Linked DNA regions of Homo sapiens: regions 2, 3, 4 and 5 are each linked to region 1. Evidence: promoter capture Hi-C in 16 types of primary human blood cells and fetal thymus (Javierre and others, 2016). All regions are on one chromosome and are shown on one strand. Each heading gives the region's core, a stretch centred on a gene start or on the middle of the fragment in contact. The rest is flanking DNA. Distances are from core to core; before and after follow the strand shown. Region 1 holds the start of MTERF4 (mitochondrial transcription termination factor 4). Region 2 holds the start of THAP4 (THAP domain containing 4). Region 3 holds the start of RNPEPL1 (arginyl aminopeptidase like 1). Region 4 overlaps DTYMK (deoxythymidylate kinase). Region 5 overlaps THAP4 (THAP domain containing 4).

The links. Contacts are between HindIII fragments. The CHiCAGO score rates a contact against its expected background, and 5 or more counts as called.
Region 2: a contact is called between the fragment with the promoter of THAP4 here and the fragment with the promoter of MTERF4 in region 1, in 8 of 17 cell types (erythroblasts, naive B cells, M0 macrophages and 5 more). The highest score is 10.3, in erythroblasts.
Region 3: the fragment with the promoter of RNPEPL1 here is called in contact with the fragment with the promoter of MTERF4 in region 1 in 2 of 17 cell types (non-activated CD4 T cells and naive CD4 T cells); the score reaches 6.0 in non-activated CD4 T cells.
Region 4: a contact is called between a fragment that was not itself captured here and the fragment with the promoter of MTERF4 in region 1, in 1 of 17 cell types (total B cells). The highest score is 6.7, in total B cells.
Region 5: a fragment that was not itself captured here is called in contact with the fragment with the promoter of MTERF4 in region 1 in 1 of 17 cell types (total B cells); the score reaches 7.1 in total B cells.

The regions. Positions count from the first base shown.
Region 1 is chr2:241,101,037-241,103,736 of GRCh38, reverse strand. MTERF4 (mitochondrial transcription termination factor 4) reads left to right here and starts at 1,450. Exons shown (of 4, transcript NM_182501.4): 1 at 1,450-1,484. The coding sequence starts at 1,464. RefSeq lists enhancers at 1,124-1,663, 1,664-2,203. The HindIII fragment of the contact is 6,512 bases long and covers 1-2,700 here.
Region 2 is chr2:241,635,708-241,638,407 of GRCh38, reverse strand. THAP4 (THAP domain containing 4) reads left to right here and starts at 1,250. Exons shown (of 6, transcript NM_015963.6): 1 at 1,250-1,467. The coding sequence starts at 1,391. It overlaps ATG4B (autophagy related 4B cysteine peptidase), which reads right to left and starts at 715. Exons shown (of 13, transcript NM_013325.5): 1 at 684-715. The coding sequence starts at 693. RefSeq lists silencers at 258-397, 438-627, 648-697, 1,068-1,417, 1,448-1,517 and 1 more and an enhancer at 167-1,094. The HindIII fragment of the contact is 17,924 bases long and covers 1-2,700 here.
Region 3 is chr2:240,567,122-240,569,821 of GRCh38, reverse strand. It overlaps RNPEPL1 (arginyl aminopeptidase like 1), which reads right to left and starts at 1,338. Exons shown (of 11, transcript NM_018226.6): 1 at 708-1,338. The coding sequence starts at 1,235. RefSeq lists enhancers at 1-252, 202-381, 253-891 and silencers at 652-701, 942-1,131, 1,272-1,331, 1,362-1,621. The HindIII fragment of the contact is 8,327 bases long and covers 1-2,700 here.
Region 4 is chr2:241,682,218-241,684,917 of GRCh38, reverse strand. All of the region lies in intron 2 of DTYMK (deoxythymidylate kinase), which reads left to right. Among named protein-coding and RNA genes, the nearest start is that of DTYMK, 3.2 kb to the left of the region's middle. The HindIII fragment of the contact is 210 bases long and covers 1,298-1,507 here.
Region 5 is chr2:241,614,768-241,617,467 of GRCh38, reverse strand. All of the region lies in intron 2 of THAP4 (THAP domain containing 4), which reads left to right. Among named protein-coding and RNA genes, the nearest start is that of THAP4, 21 kb to the left of the region's middle. RefSeq lists an enhancer at 1,110-1,916. The HindIII fragment of the contact is 4,628 bases long and covers 1-2,700 here.

The DNA of each region.
Region 1 (2,700 bases), core at 201-2,700:
TGTAGCATTAACACAATTTATTGTGAGATGTTGACAGTTGAGTATTTTGAGAAGAAAATTACATTATAAAAAACAACAAAGGCAACCAATTTTTTTTTTCCTTTTGTTTTTTGAGACAAGGTCTTGCTCTGTTACGCAGGCTGGAGTGCAGTGGTGCAATCATGGCTCACTGCAGCCTCAACCTCCTGGACTCAAGTGATCCTCCCACTTCAGGCTCCTGAGTAGCTGGGACTACAGGTGCACGCCACTACTCCCGGCTAATTTTTTATTTTTTGTAGAGACAGGATTTTCCTATGTTGCTCAGGTTGGTCTTGAACTCCTGAGCCCAGGCAATCCCCCCCACCTCAGCCTCTCACAGTGCTGGGATTACAGGCGTGGGCCACTGCACTCTGCCAAAGCAACCAATTCTTTAGTTTCTACACGGATTAGAACCTTCCTTTTCTTTGACATAATCCTTTTGTCAAAAGACAGTTTTACATAAATTGTTTGGCACCCCACTCCATGCCTGGCGCAAAGCAGATATGTAAATGTGTGCCCATGCAAGAATCAAATCCTTTATGTCAGTCCAGAATGAAGTAGATAAAACAAGAAATGCTTATAAATTAAGGCTTTGGTGGCAGGATTTAGGCAGCTGAGAAAGCACACCTTTTTATTCTTCACAAGCATCACCTTGTGAAAGATGCCTACGCTCTTAGGTCGAGAGAGGAAATTTAAGAATGAATACACATTGGGCTAAAACTTTACTATATTTCATCCTAAGAGGGAACCAGACCTCGAAGTTGGGAAGGCTCTTGCTTATAAAGGGAAATGTGCCGTAATTCCTGTCATTTTACTTGGGTCTTTTAAAAACGGCAAATTCTCATCTTCCACTGGCTGAGAGTAAAAAGAAAGAAAAGCGGTAAAGACTTCTTTTTGTGCGTAGGTGGCCCCGGTGTTCACGCTGAATACAGATTTTTACACAATAAAATCTTAAATATCTCTACATGGAACGGAATCCATTTTTCCTGCCTCGGGAAGGATTTCTGCGCTCTCGGGTGAAGTTCCCGAAGCAAGGAACCAGTTCCCCTCTACCTGTACTCTTGAGAGGAATTCTCAGGTCATCTGAAACACAAGTATGGGCCAGGACGACCCATTCGTTCACGCGGCCCAGAGCTCTGCGAAACGGGACACGGCAGTGCAACGGGAACAACCGGACACCGAGGCCCCCGAAGGCTGAGGCCGCGGCAGAGGCGGCGGCACGGTGACGGGCGCGACTCCGGCCTTCCGGCTTTCTAAGGGGCGGCCCCGGGACACCTGAGCCCCGCGGGGCCGTGAACGCTCAGCACAGCTCCGGGCCGGAATCACGATCCACCACACCGCGCTGGCGCTGGGAACGGCGTCGGTGACGGACCGGGGGCCGGAAGTGAAGGACGGGGGAGGACCGCTGCTTCCGGCGCCGTAACTGCTGCCATCTTCTCCGCGCTATGGCTGCGTTCGGCCGTCAGGTAAGCTCGAGCTGGGCGCGCGGGCTTCTCCGGGTCGCAGGCGGGCGGGCAGCGACGCAGAGGAACCGCGGCCGCCGAGTGTTTCACGGCCAGGTCGTGGAGCCCTCCCGGAGGTCCGTGCACGCTGACCTGGTTTTGGCATCCTGGACCCGTGGCTCTGCTCAATTATTGTGGGATATAGAGTTGACATTTTTTTTTTTTGAGACAAAGTCTCGCTCTGTCTCCAGGCTGGAGTGCAATGGCGCGATCTCGGCTCACTGCAACCTCCGCCTCCCGGGTTCAAGCAATTCTACTGCTTCAGCCTCCCAAGTAGCTGGGATTACAGGCGCCCGCCACCATGCCTGGCTAATTTTTGTATTTTTAGTAGAGACGGGGTTTCACCGTGTTGGCCAGTCTGGTCTGTAACTTCTGGCCTCAGGTGATCCACCCGCCTCGAACTCCCAAAGTGCTGGGATTACAGGCGTGAGCCACCGCGCCCGGCCTGAGTTGACTGTTGAACAAGAGTTTGAACTTCACAAGGAAGATAACATGTACTTTTCATTAAGAGGAAGCGGAATCAGCATAGAGGTCTTTAGGCTTGAGCCCAGTTCCACGGGCCGCGCCCGCTGACCCCAGCGACTGCCAGGTGTTCCTGGCGGAGGGAGCATCTGGACAGGGGAGGCTGGAGAGCAGCCAGAGCTTGGGCTTGGCAGGGTGGCCCCAGGGCGACAATCGATGACGCTGGAGAAGGGGTTGGGACCGATGTGAAGGTTTTAGAGCAGGGGTTCCCCAACCCCCGGTACCGTCCCTTGCCTATTAGGAACCAGGCTGCACAGCAGGAGGTGAGCGGCAAGTGAGCCAGCCAGACTGTATTTACAGCCGCTCCCTTCGCTGGCATTACCGCCTGAGCTCCGCCTCCTGTCAGACCAGCCGCCTTAGATTCTCACTGGAGCGCGAACCCTATTGTGAACTGCGCCTTTGAGGGGTCCAGGTTGCGCTCCTTATGAGAATCTGATGCCCGATGATCTGTCACTGTTTCCCATCAACCCCAGATGGCACCTCCTGGTTGTAGGAAAACAAGCTCAGGGCTCCCAGTGATTCTACATTATGGTGAGTTGTATAATTATTTCATCTTATATTACAACGTGAAAATAACAGAAATAAAGTGCACAACAAATGTAATATGCTTGAATCATCCTGAAACCCCTCACCAGTCTGTGGAAAAATTGTCTTCCAT
Region 2 (2,700 bases), core at 1-2,500, 530 kb before region 1:
AAAAAAACCAACACTCCCTATACACACACACACACACTCCTTCTCTTTCTCTCTCTCTTAGGACCCCAAGAAACTAAGACCCGATGATACAAATTCACTGTTTCTCTTTCTCGTCACGGAAAAGCAGCTTGGAGAATCTACTGGTTACTAAATTGAAGACAAAAACAAAAAAGATACGTATACTGTGATGAACACGTCACGTTTCTCTCCTCCAACCTACCAATAACTTCATAAAAGTTAAAGAGCTTCCATCCCTTCACGCTCAGCTGCGGAAAGGCTACGCTTTCGCCCGCCGCTCGCGTCCCCGGCCCGGACCGCGGCCGCCCCGTTCGCCGCCGCGCCTCTCCCCGCCCGGCAGGCTCCGCCGCCCTCCACGGCCGACCTGGCGCAAGGGCCTGTGCAGCCACAACCTCCGGAGCGCTCCGGACGGGACCGGAAAAGCAGAAGCTCCAGCGCAACCGACGGCGGGTTCCGCGGCGCAGTGCGCCGCCGTCCCCCTCCCGCTCCCACCGCCCACCACCCACCAACACCGCCCCGCGCTCCCGCAGCGCCCGCCGCCCCGGCCCAGCCTGGCCCGCACCGGCGTGCCCCGAGGCGAGTCGCGGCAGCCCGACCCGAGCAGGGGAGGCCAATGATAAGGCGAGCACCTCCTGCGGAAAGACCGACCCCCGGCAACTCCTCACCTGCGTCCATCTTCCCAGTCCGGCCGCCGACTGACCCGAGCGGCGTCGCTCCGACGGGCCAGCAACGCGACGCGGCGACGGGACGCCGCGGGGGCCAATAGGTGTGCCGGCGCAGGCGGCGAAGACGATACGGCGCGCGAGCGGAAATACGCGGGAGCCGCCATTTTGGCGTACGGCCGGGCCGACGCGAGCCCCGGGGCGCCCTGCGGGCGGCATGGGGTCGTGTCGTGGGACGACGGCTGGTTCTGCTGTCCGACGGGACACTGTGTGCCATGGGTGGCGCTTCCTCCTCTTAGAGGACCCAGGAGCAGTTGTCGAGGCGGCAGAGGCGAGCTCTGTCCCCGTCCGAGCAGCCATCTTGCGGTACGGACGTGCTCGGCGCGCCCATGTCGCGGTACGGACTTGCCCCGCCGGGGCGACTCCCCCGCCCGTCTGCCCGCCTGCCGACGGACGCTGCGAGGGGCCTGCGGCGCCCCGCTGGTCCGAAGACGCCCGAACCCGCGGCTGGCGAGGACGCGGGCGGGGGCTGGGGCGGGGGCGGGCCCGCTGCGGGCGCCTGCGCCTCCATCTTGCCGTACGGCGCGGACGCCGCGGGCCGGCCCACGTCCCGAGCCGTGTCGCCGCCGCGCTCCCTCCCTCGGGGCGGTCCGCGGGCGGGCGGGCGGCTAGGGCCGGGGCCTGGCTGCGCGGCTGGGCCAAGGCCCGCGATGGTGATCTGCTGTGCGGCCGTGAACTGCTCCAACCGGCAGGGAAAGGGCGAGAAGCGCGCCGTCTCCTTCCACAGGTACGCGGGCCCCGGGCCGCCACGCCCCCGCCCCGACCCGGCCCTGCGGGGAAACTGAGGCCCCGCGGCCGGCCCGAACGCGGGGGGCGGGGGCGCCGGGCCTCGGCGGCCGGGGCGCGGGGGAGCGGGCGTGGGCGCTGTGTGACCTTGGCCCGGCCGCCGTCTCTGGGCCGGGCGCCTCGGGCAGCGCAGCCGCCCCCACCCCGGCCGCCTGGGTCCGCCCTGCGCGCGATCGATCCGGCCGGCGCCTAGGCTTCAGAAGCCGCACGCTCTGGAAGCGCAGGTCCTGGGCCGATTGTCCTGCTCGGCCGCGACTGCTGACTCTCCGGACCGCGCGGGCCGTCGGCCTGGATGTCTGCGAGCAGGAGCGACCGGGCAGACGCGACCTGCGCCTCCGTAGCTGACAGCCCCCGAGAGGGCTTTCCGGGACTGGGCCCCCGAGCCCAGGACGCGGGTACGCGCGGAGAGTCTACGGGACGGCCGGCTGGGGACGGCATCCTCCTGCGCTCCCTTAGAGCCTGGCCCGGGGCTCTCGGCCGCTTCCCACGTGGGCCCCCGCGGCAGGGCCCAAACCCCTCTAAGGCCTTGTGAGTTCAGCCTATTTCAGTGAGATTTCTGCGGATTACACGCGGGAGGCACCAGAACCGCGAACAGACTTTAAAAACCACTTTGGAGATGTTTCTGTTTTATGTTGCATGGTGTTATTTAAGTTTTAAAGACGGGAATGGCACGTGTTATTTATAGGGTTATTGAAAGTTCACAGTAGTTTGCTGTAAGTCTTAAATCATTACAATGTATTATAAGAATTAGTAACATTAGATTATTTCACAAGTCAGCCAGCGCACTTTCTTGACAATTTCCTTCAGAGCTTGTGTCCTAGAAGTTTTGTTATTGTTTTTTGAAAACGAGGCAACGTGTTGCAACGGTCTAACATGGTATGGGAGGAAAGGACATCGGAATTGGGGGTGGGGGGGTACCTTTGCAGTTGGCCTCACAGTGTTCAGAAAGGAGGTTAGAAGGTCCTGTTGCTTAGAACGGCCCAGTCCATCCTGTTAGGATTTGTCCTGGTCCACACTGGCCTCAGGTGGAGCAAATAGCAGTTAGAACTGACCACCCTGTCCCTTATGTGCACATTAGGGCCTGGTTTTTTTTTCTTTTTTTCTCTTTTTTTTGAGAAGGAGTCTCCCTCTGTCGCCCAGGCTGGAGTGCATTGGTGCGATCTCGGCTCACTGC
Region 3 (2,700 bases), core at 89-2,588, 530 kb after region 1:
TGCATATGTCGGGTGTCACATGTGTGCCGTCCATACCACCTAGGGATGCAGTATGAACCCCCATGCTGTAGGCAGGAAAGGCCCTGCTCCATCCTGTACACATCCCCACTGGTGGAGGTGGAGGGGGTGCTGCAGCCACAGCGCCAGCCTCAGCCACCTGGCCTTTCTTGCAGAGTCTCTGGAGTGGTGGGTACCCAGTGTGCAAGCCCTGCAGAGCCTATGTGTGTCTATGTTGGGGTCGCGGGGCCCACTGGTCTCAACACTCCACCAGTGCTGGCCAAGGAAGCCCCAAACCGAGCATCACAATCTCCATGGCCCTTTCCTCTGCCTCTGGCTTGGACTCATCTGCACGCACTGGTCACATGGAGGCCCTTCCGCAGCTGACACTCCAGCCCAACCCTTGGTGCCAGGATCCTGCAGATGTACACCTCGGTGGGTGACAGAAGCTGCTCATGTCCCCAGGCAGGGACCAGACACCTGAACGGGAGGCTTCCCGGAGTGACATGCTGTCCCGTGTCCCCGCAGGACTCCGGCTTCTATCCGAGGGTCCTAAGGGCTCACAGGCAACAGCTGGGAATCACCGGGGTGGGGGGAGGGGGGCACCTGTAGGGCGCAGATTCGCGTCCCTCAGCCTGGCCGTGCGGCGAGAGGCCGCTAGCAGCGCCCTGCGGACCGGCCCGCAGCCCCGGCGCCCGCCCCGGACTCACGGCGGGGGCGTCGGTCGAGGTGTACCGCAGGATGACCTGGAAGGGCTGGTGCGCCTGCAGCTCGGGCGGCAGCGTGACGGTGAGCGAGGAGCCGTAGTCGGTGAACGGGTCCACCCTGAAGGCCAGCGGACAGCAGGCGGGCTCGGAGCCGGGCGCCTCGGGGAAGGCGGGCAGCGGGGGCGGCGGCGCGGGCCCCGGCCCGGGGGCGGAGAAGGCGAAGGCGCAGGGCGTCTCGGCGGCGGCGGCGGGGGCGCGACGGAAGGCGGCTGAGTGCAGGCGCAGAGCCGGGTGCGCGTCGAGCACGAGCGCGCGGGGCGCGGGCCGCAGCGCGCACAGCTCGAGCACCAGGCAGCCGGCCAACTCGCGCGCCTCGGGCCGCAGCTCCAGGCCCAGCTGCAGGTGGCGGAGGCGGAAGAGCTGCGCGCTGGAGGCCGAGGCCACGTCCAGGGCGGGCGGCGGCTCGGGCGGCGGGCGGACGGGCGCGGCCTCGGCGCCGGGCGCCTGGCGGCAGCAGCACTGCGCGGCCATGGCCGCCGGCACTAGGTGAAATCCATGGGCGGCGGCCGCGCCGGGCCGCGGGCGAGGGGCGCCGGGCGGCGGCGGCGGCGGGGCGCGGGCACAACAGGAAGTCGCGCCGGGAGCCGCCCGGCCCGGCCCCGCGCCGTGCGCCGCCCCGCTCGGGCTCCGCTCGGCCGCCGCCGGGGGCGCTGTGCGCGGGGCCGGGGCGCGGGGCCGGGGCGCCGGGCGGGGAGGGCCAGGAGCCAGGGGCGCGGGGAGCCGGGGAATCGAGCGCGGCGCGGGGCCGGGGCGCTGTGTTGGGAGCCGAGGCGCGCGGAGCGGGTGAGCAGCACCCCCAGCCCCTCGCTTCCTCCCCGGGCGGCGCCCGGGAGATCCCAGGAGGCGGGATCGCTGCTCCCTCCCAGACACTGCCGGCCAGGCCCCTGGGGCAGCCGCTGAAGGGACCCGGGAACCTTGGGGCCACAGGGGCAGGCTGCTTCCAGGTGTGGTTCGTGTTCCCGAGGAGCGCAGCGTCGCGAACTCAATGTCATCCTTTCATCCGGGGCTACGGGCAGGGCAGGATTCTCCTGGCACCCCTGCCACTCCTCCAAGTCTACAGGTGTGGTCTGTGCTGTGGGCCCTGCGGTGCGAGAAGCGCCGGAGCCTTCACGCAGCGCTGTCAACTACAGCAGCCACCAACCACGTGTGGCCATTTAGATGCGAATTAAATACAGTTAGAAGTTCAGTTCCTTCGTGGCAGGTGGAGTGAGTGAGTGTGTGTGTCTTCCTGGGAGGAGTGGCTAATGGACAAAGCAGGCAGGAATCATTTCCACAATCGCAGAAGTTCCTCTGGGCAGTGCTGGGGACCTCTCATTTGGGAGCCCTGTGCTGGGGTACGAAGGAGGGTCTGGCCCGCCTGTCCCCACCCCATCCGCCAGGTCCACCCTTCCCAACGCCATTCTCTGTGGACCTGGCGAAGGCTGCCCAAGGCTGAGCCTGTCCAGGAGCCTGAGCCCCGAGGGAAGGGGTGCTCGCCTGGCAGAAGCTGCTAGTGAGCTCACAGCGGTTAAATTTTGAGGCTGTGGAATAACAGGGGCCACCATGATGTCGCTGTTGTCATCAAGTAAGAATTCAAATTCCTAGGGACAAGGGGCTTCTGGGGCTGGGGAACTATCCAGGAACCCAGGACACCTCTCTCTTCTGCTCCATTGAGGTGTGGCCGTGCAGGGCTGGACTCGGGTACCGCACTCGACTCAGCGTCAGCCCTGAGTAGTGTTTCCTGTGTCTGGACTCAGTCTCCTCGTTGTGTAACCCTCTGTGTCTACCCTCCTTCCGTGGGGCGGGAAGGAAGGCTGAGAGGGAGAGTGTGCGTTCACGTTTGCGGGACAGAGCACTGAGGCATCATTTCAGTTTTCCCGTAGGACCTCAGGTCCCCACGTGCCCTCTTTAGGGACACGGCCACGATCTTGGGGCACCCATCCCAAACTCACCAGGA
Region 4 (2,700 bases), core at 153-2,652, 580 kb before region 1:
AGAGTATGTAGAGCGCTCCCTACATACTACCCCTGCCTTCCCCCCTTCCCCATTATTTATGTGCTGTGTTATGTTACATTTGTTAAAATTGATAACCAATATTGATACATTAGTAACTGAGTTTATATGAACTCTCCTACCACCTTTTTTTGTTTTACATCATTGTAGTAGGTTTCCTCTTCATTCAACACTTAATGTTGATGTGTGTTCTTTCAATGTTTTTATTTACATTTATATACATATGTAGAAACTACTATAGTTAGAATTTTGTTTTTTAACATAAATGAGGTCATACCATACAAATTATTTGGCAGCTTTCTTTCTAACTCTGCCTTACAGATTTCTGCACTTACAGATCCCCTAACTCTGCCCTTCTCATTCTCTTTAATTGTCGTCGCATTGTCTCTAGAACCACGGTACGTGTAGCCAGTTCCCTGCTGGTGAATCTTCAGTGGTTCCTCATCATCCGTGTTACATGAAACACTGCATTACTCTCCTCCGGCTTAGCTTTGTGTCTTGCTTGGAAAGGCTGTCCCCACTCCAAGTCTTAAATGAAAATGAGACCATTTTTAATAATCTTTTTAACACATCTAGAATTTATGGAGGCAATTGTTCTTCTGATTTTGCTTTTTGTGGCTTTGTAGAAAAGTGATGAAACACGTATATGCCCAATTTAAAATGAAGAATAATCCTGATTTTACTTTTTAGATAATAATCTTATCCCAGGTACCCAGGGCTACGTCTCTTGTGTCCATCTATTCTCCTACAGGTTACTTGTTTCCCTAATAGATATTTAAGTTTCCTCTATGTCTAACTGTGGCTTGATAGTTTTTTTTTGTTGTTTTGTTTTGGTTTTTTTTGAGACAAGAGTCTCGTTGTGTTGCTCAGGTTGGAGTGCAGTGGCTCAGTCTCGGCTCACTGCAACCGCCGCCTCCCGGGTTCAAGCATTTCTCCTGCCTCAGCCTCCTGAGTAGCTGGGATTACAGGCGCGTACGACCATGCACAGCTAATTTTTATGTTTTAGTAGAGACAGGGTTTCACCATGTTGGCCAGGGTGGTCTTGAACTCCTGACCTCAAGTGATCCTCCCACGTCGGCCTCCCACAGTGCTGGGATTACAGGCATGAGCCACCATGCCCGACCAATAGTTCATGTCTTTTTTGCCCTAATTAATAGTCCCTTGTTTGGATGTACCATAGTTCATTACCTACTAAAGGACATCTTTGTTGCTTCCAAGTTTTGGCAGTTATAAATCTGTTATAAACATCCTGGTGCAGGATTTTGTGTGGTCATAAGCTTTCACTTCTTTTGGGTAAATGCCAGGGAGCACCACTGCTTTAATATGTGGTAAGACTATTAATTTTTGTGAAGAACTGCTAAACCATGGGTATCCAGTCTTTTGGCTTCCCTGGGCCACATTGGAAGAAATGTCTTGGGCCACGCATAAAATACACTAACAATTGCTGATGAGCTTAAAAAAAAAAATCTCGTAACGTTTTGAGAAAGCTTAACAAATTTGTGTTGGGCTGCATGCAGCCTGCGGGCCTTGGGTTGGACAAGCTTGTGGTGAACTGTCTTCCAAAGTGGCTGCAGCATCTTGCATTCTCACCAGCAGTGAACAAGGGTTGCTATTGCTCCAGACCCTCACCAGCATTTGGTGTTGTCAGTGTTTGGATGTTTGCCATTCTGATAGGTGTGTGTGGCATCTCATTGTTCTAGTTTGCATTTCCCTGCTGACATATGATGTGGAGTATCTTTTCATATGCTTGTTTGCCATCTGTGTATCTGGTTTCGTAAGGGATCTGTTGAGTGCTTTGGCCCACTCTTTTTTTTGGGACAGGGTCTCAACCAGGCTAGAGTACAGTGGCACGGTCTTGGCTCACTGCAGCCTCTACTTCCCAGGCTCAAGCGATCCTCCTGCCTTAGCCTCCCAAGTAGCTGGGACTACAGGTGCATGCCACCATGCTAAGTTTTGTATTTCTTTTTTGTTTTCCTCGAGACAGTTTCATTCTTGTCGCCCAGACTGGAGTGCAATGGGGCGATCTTGGCTCACTGCAACCTACGCCTCGCAGGTTCAAGCGATTCTCCTGCCTCAGCCTCTCAAGTAGCTGTGATCACAGGTGCCCACCACCACGCCCGGCTAATTTTTCTATTTTTTAGTTAGTGATGGGGTTTCGTCATGTTGGCCAGGCTGGTCTTGAACTCCTGACCTCAGGTGATCCACCTGCTTTAGCCTCCCAAAGTGCTGGGATTACAGGCACGAGCCACCATGCCCGGCCAATTTTGTATTTTTTGAGGAAATGTGGTTTCACCATGTTTCCCAGGTTGGACTCAAATTCCTGGGCTCAAGTGATGAGCCTGCCTCCGCCTCCCAAAGTGTTGGGAATATAGGCATGAGCCATTACGCCCAGCCTTGGCCCACTTTTTAAGGGGGTTGGTTGATTTCTTATTTTTGAGTTTTAAGAATTCTTTGTATGCTTTAGATAACAGTCCTTTATAAAATGTGTCTTTTATACATATTTTCTCCTAGGCTGTGGTTTGCCTTTTCTGTTTTCTCACTCTCTTTCTCTCTTTTCTTTTTTTAGACAGGGTCTCTGTGTCATGCAGGCTGAGTGCAGTGCGCAATCACAGCTTACTGCAGCCTCGACCTCCCGGGTTCAAGTGATCTTCCCACCTCAGCCTCCCAAGTAGCTGCAACTAT
Region 5 (2,700 bases), core at 45-2,544, 510 kb before region 1:
AAAACAACCTTGAGGAACCTTGACGAGTGTCCGGAGTTTAGAAAACTTAGGGATGGGTAAGCCTGCTTTCAGTGTCTTGGGCCAAAACATGAAAATTTAAATTTCTTGCAGGAAATTTAAATTTTTGTTTTTGTGTTTTGGTTGAGATTTCAATAAAAGAAAAATGAAATCAGAAAAGAAATGCCTAGAAAAGCCTGTCTGGTTTATTTAAAGAGGTGGAAAGTGACAAATAGACTAGGTCCTTTATAGTATTTTTTGTTTCATGTTTAAATTTATTTTTTTCTAATGAAGTATAATTTACAGAGAGTAAAATACACAGATATTGAGGTCACAGTTTGATGGATCTTAACATATATCTAGGCTCAAGTAACCTGATGTTTGGATTCTAAAATTCTCTTACTGGTCGTCCTCACCCCCACCCATGCTTCAGTGACAACAAGGAGGGACAGTGGCTAGGCTGCTGCCACGTTCCACGCGGCCCGAAGTGGTGGAGGGTGCAGGGGGAGCGGCCCCAGGAGCAGGTTAACCTGGTGAGGTGCAGTGTAGACAGAAGGAGGCGCCGCCGCTGCTTGTTTACTGCCTGACCTGTTGTCCCTGTCCAAATTAAACTCCATTAAGATTCAGAGCAAATAACAGCAAGCCAGGAGGGCGACAGGAAGGGAAGTATTTCTCACAGCCATTAGTTGCTCACAGCCGTAAGCCTCCATCTAGTTGCTTAGCCGCGTGCTCCTTCCTTTCCAGTCTGATGTTATTTTTTCTGCTCAAAAGCGTTTCTTCTGAATTTCAGAGCTATCTTAGAATTCTCTAGTTTTTTAAAAAGAAATTGCCACATAAGTGCTGCGTCCTGTCCTGTCCCCAAGTGTGGTGTGGGCCCTGTGCCCCTGAAGCAGCAGCCGCCTGCAGGGTAGCTTCTCTCCAGGGCCCGCGGGACTTGCTTCCCTGACCTGGCATGCACATAGCAAAGTCCACTCAAAAGCTCACTTTTAGCCAGAATTTTTGAGGCAGCCTCTCCCTACCTGTTCTTACCAGGACACCATCCCCCTGCTCAGGTGCCACTGCTTACCCGCTCTGTGGTGGGCCTCTCTGGTCCTGATGCCAGGGCTCGCCCTCAGCTCTCGTGCGCCTGCACCCGCCCTTCTCACTGATGTCACGGGTCGCCTTCCAAGCTGCCAGCAATGCCAGCTGCTGGCCATCTCCAGCCCACCCATCCCTCTTATCTCACTCTCATTTCCATCTCCCTTGGGCTAGTCGTCGAGGCAGAAAGCCCGGGCCACGTCCCTCCTACGTAAAAGGTTCTGGCCCATCCAGGCCCACTTGGGGGAATAGATGGTCCAGTTCAACTTGACCAGACTTCAGATAAGCCCAGTTCTTCTGAGGAGCCAGCTGTGCTCACCTGTCCTTGCCAGCCCCCTGACTGAGTTCTCCCAGGCGTCTTGTGGCAGGGGCTCTGGGCTGCTCCAGCTGCAGGACTGGGGCAGAGTGTGTCCCCATGGGCGCCCTCCTTGCTTCCAGGCCAGCCGGGCTGGGCCTGTGTCTAGAACCAGCTCCCCAGCATCCTGAGGAACGCGAAACCTACTCAGAAACACGGCTGAGGGCGGCGAAGAGCTCTCCTGATGTGTCGGGAACCGTGGGCTTGGGGCACGGGGATGTGCTGGGTGGCTGCCAGTGGCGTCCTCACTCCCACCTGGGAGAAGAGAGGAGTGAAGAGGAGAGGTGGGAGGTGAGAGGCACCGGGCAGGGCGCTGTGTGTGGCTCCAGCCCTCTCTGGCCCTCTGCACCTGCCCCAAGGTATGCGACTCACACCACAGTGGTGTCATTTGTTTTAATTTGAACAGATGTTTAGAAATTGGGATATTTTAGCCTAAAATCAGCTTCTGGCTTTTCTCGAAATATTAGATCTGCAGTAGGTGCTGCAGCTTGGATGGCAGCAGACCCTGGGGCCAGGAGCCAAGGCCCTGAGCTGTGAGGCCGACCTCACTCCCCACCACATCCCCTGCTCTGAGGCCACCCAGAACCCTGTGCTGCAGTAACATAGTAAACACTCTTGGGATAAAATGCTTTTAGTTTTTTTAAGTTTTCTGCTTTTTGAAATATTAATTTGTTTGGGGAGGTTTTTCTTTATAACATTTTTATTGAGGTGTAATTCGCATAAGTGAAACACAAGCTCCTAGGTGTTCCCGTGGTGAGTTTTGGCAGGTGCAGGCGCTTGTGCAGCCACACCCACGTCCAGCGGTCCAGGTTCTCCTTTGCACTCCCCTCCAAGCCCCTCCCCGTCACCGTTCAGATTCCCCACCCTCCATCCTTTCTGCCTGGTCTCGAATTTCATCTAATTGGAATCATAGAATATATACGTTTTTGTCTGGCTTCTTTCTTTTCGCGCAGTGTTTTCAAGGGACACCTGATTGATTTTCATTTCTAGTCTCACTGCATTGTGATCAGACAGTAGACTTCTTTCTGCTTTCTGGAACTTACAGGCTTTCTTTGACCATTTAGAAGGCCAGTTTGCATGACTGTTCCAGAGGAACTTGAAGAAGGCATTCCTTAGTTTTGTTTTTGTTTTTGTTTTTGTTTTTGTTTTGAGATGGAGTTTCGCTCTTGTCACCCAGGCTGGAGTGCAATGGTGCAATCTCGGCTCACCGCAACCTCTGCCTCCCAGTTTCAAGCGATTCTCCTGCCTCAGCCTCCCGAGTAGCTGAGATT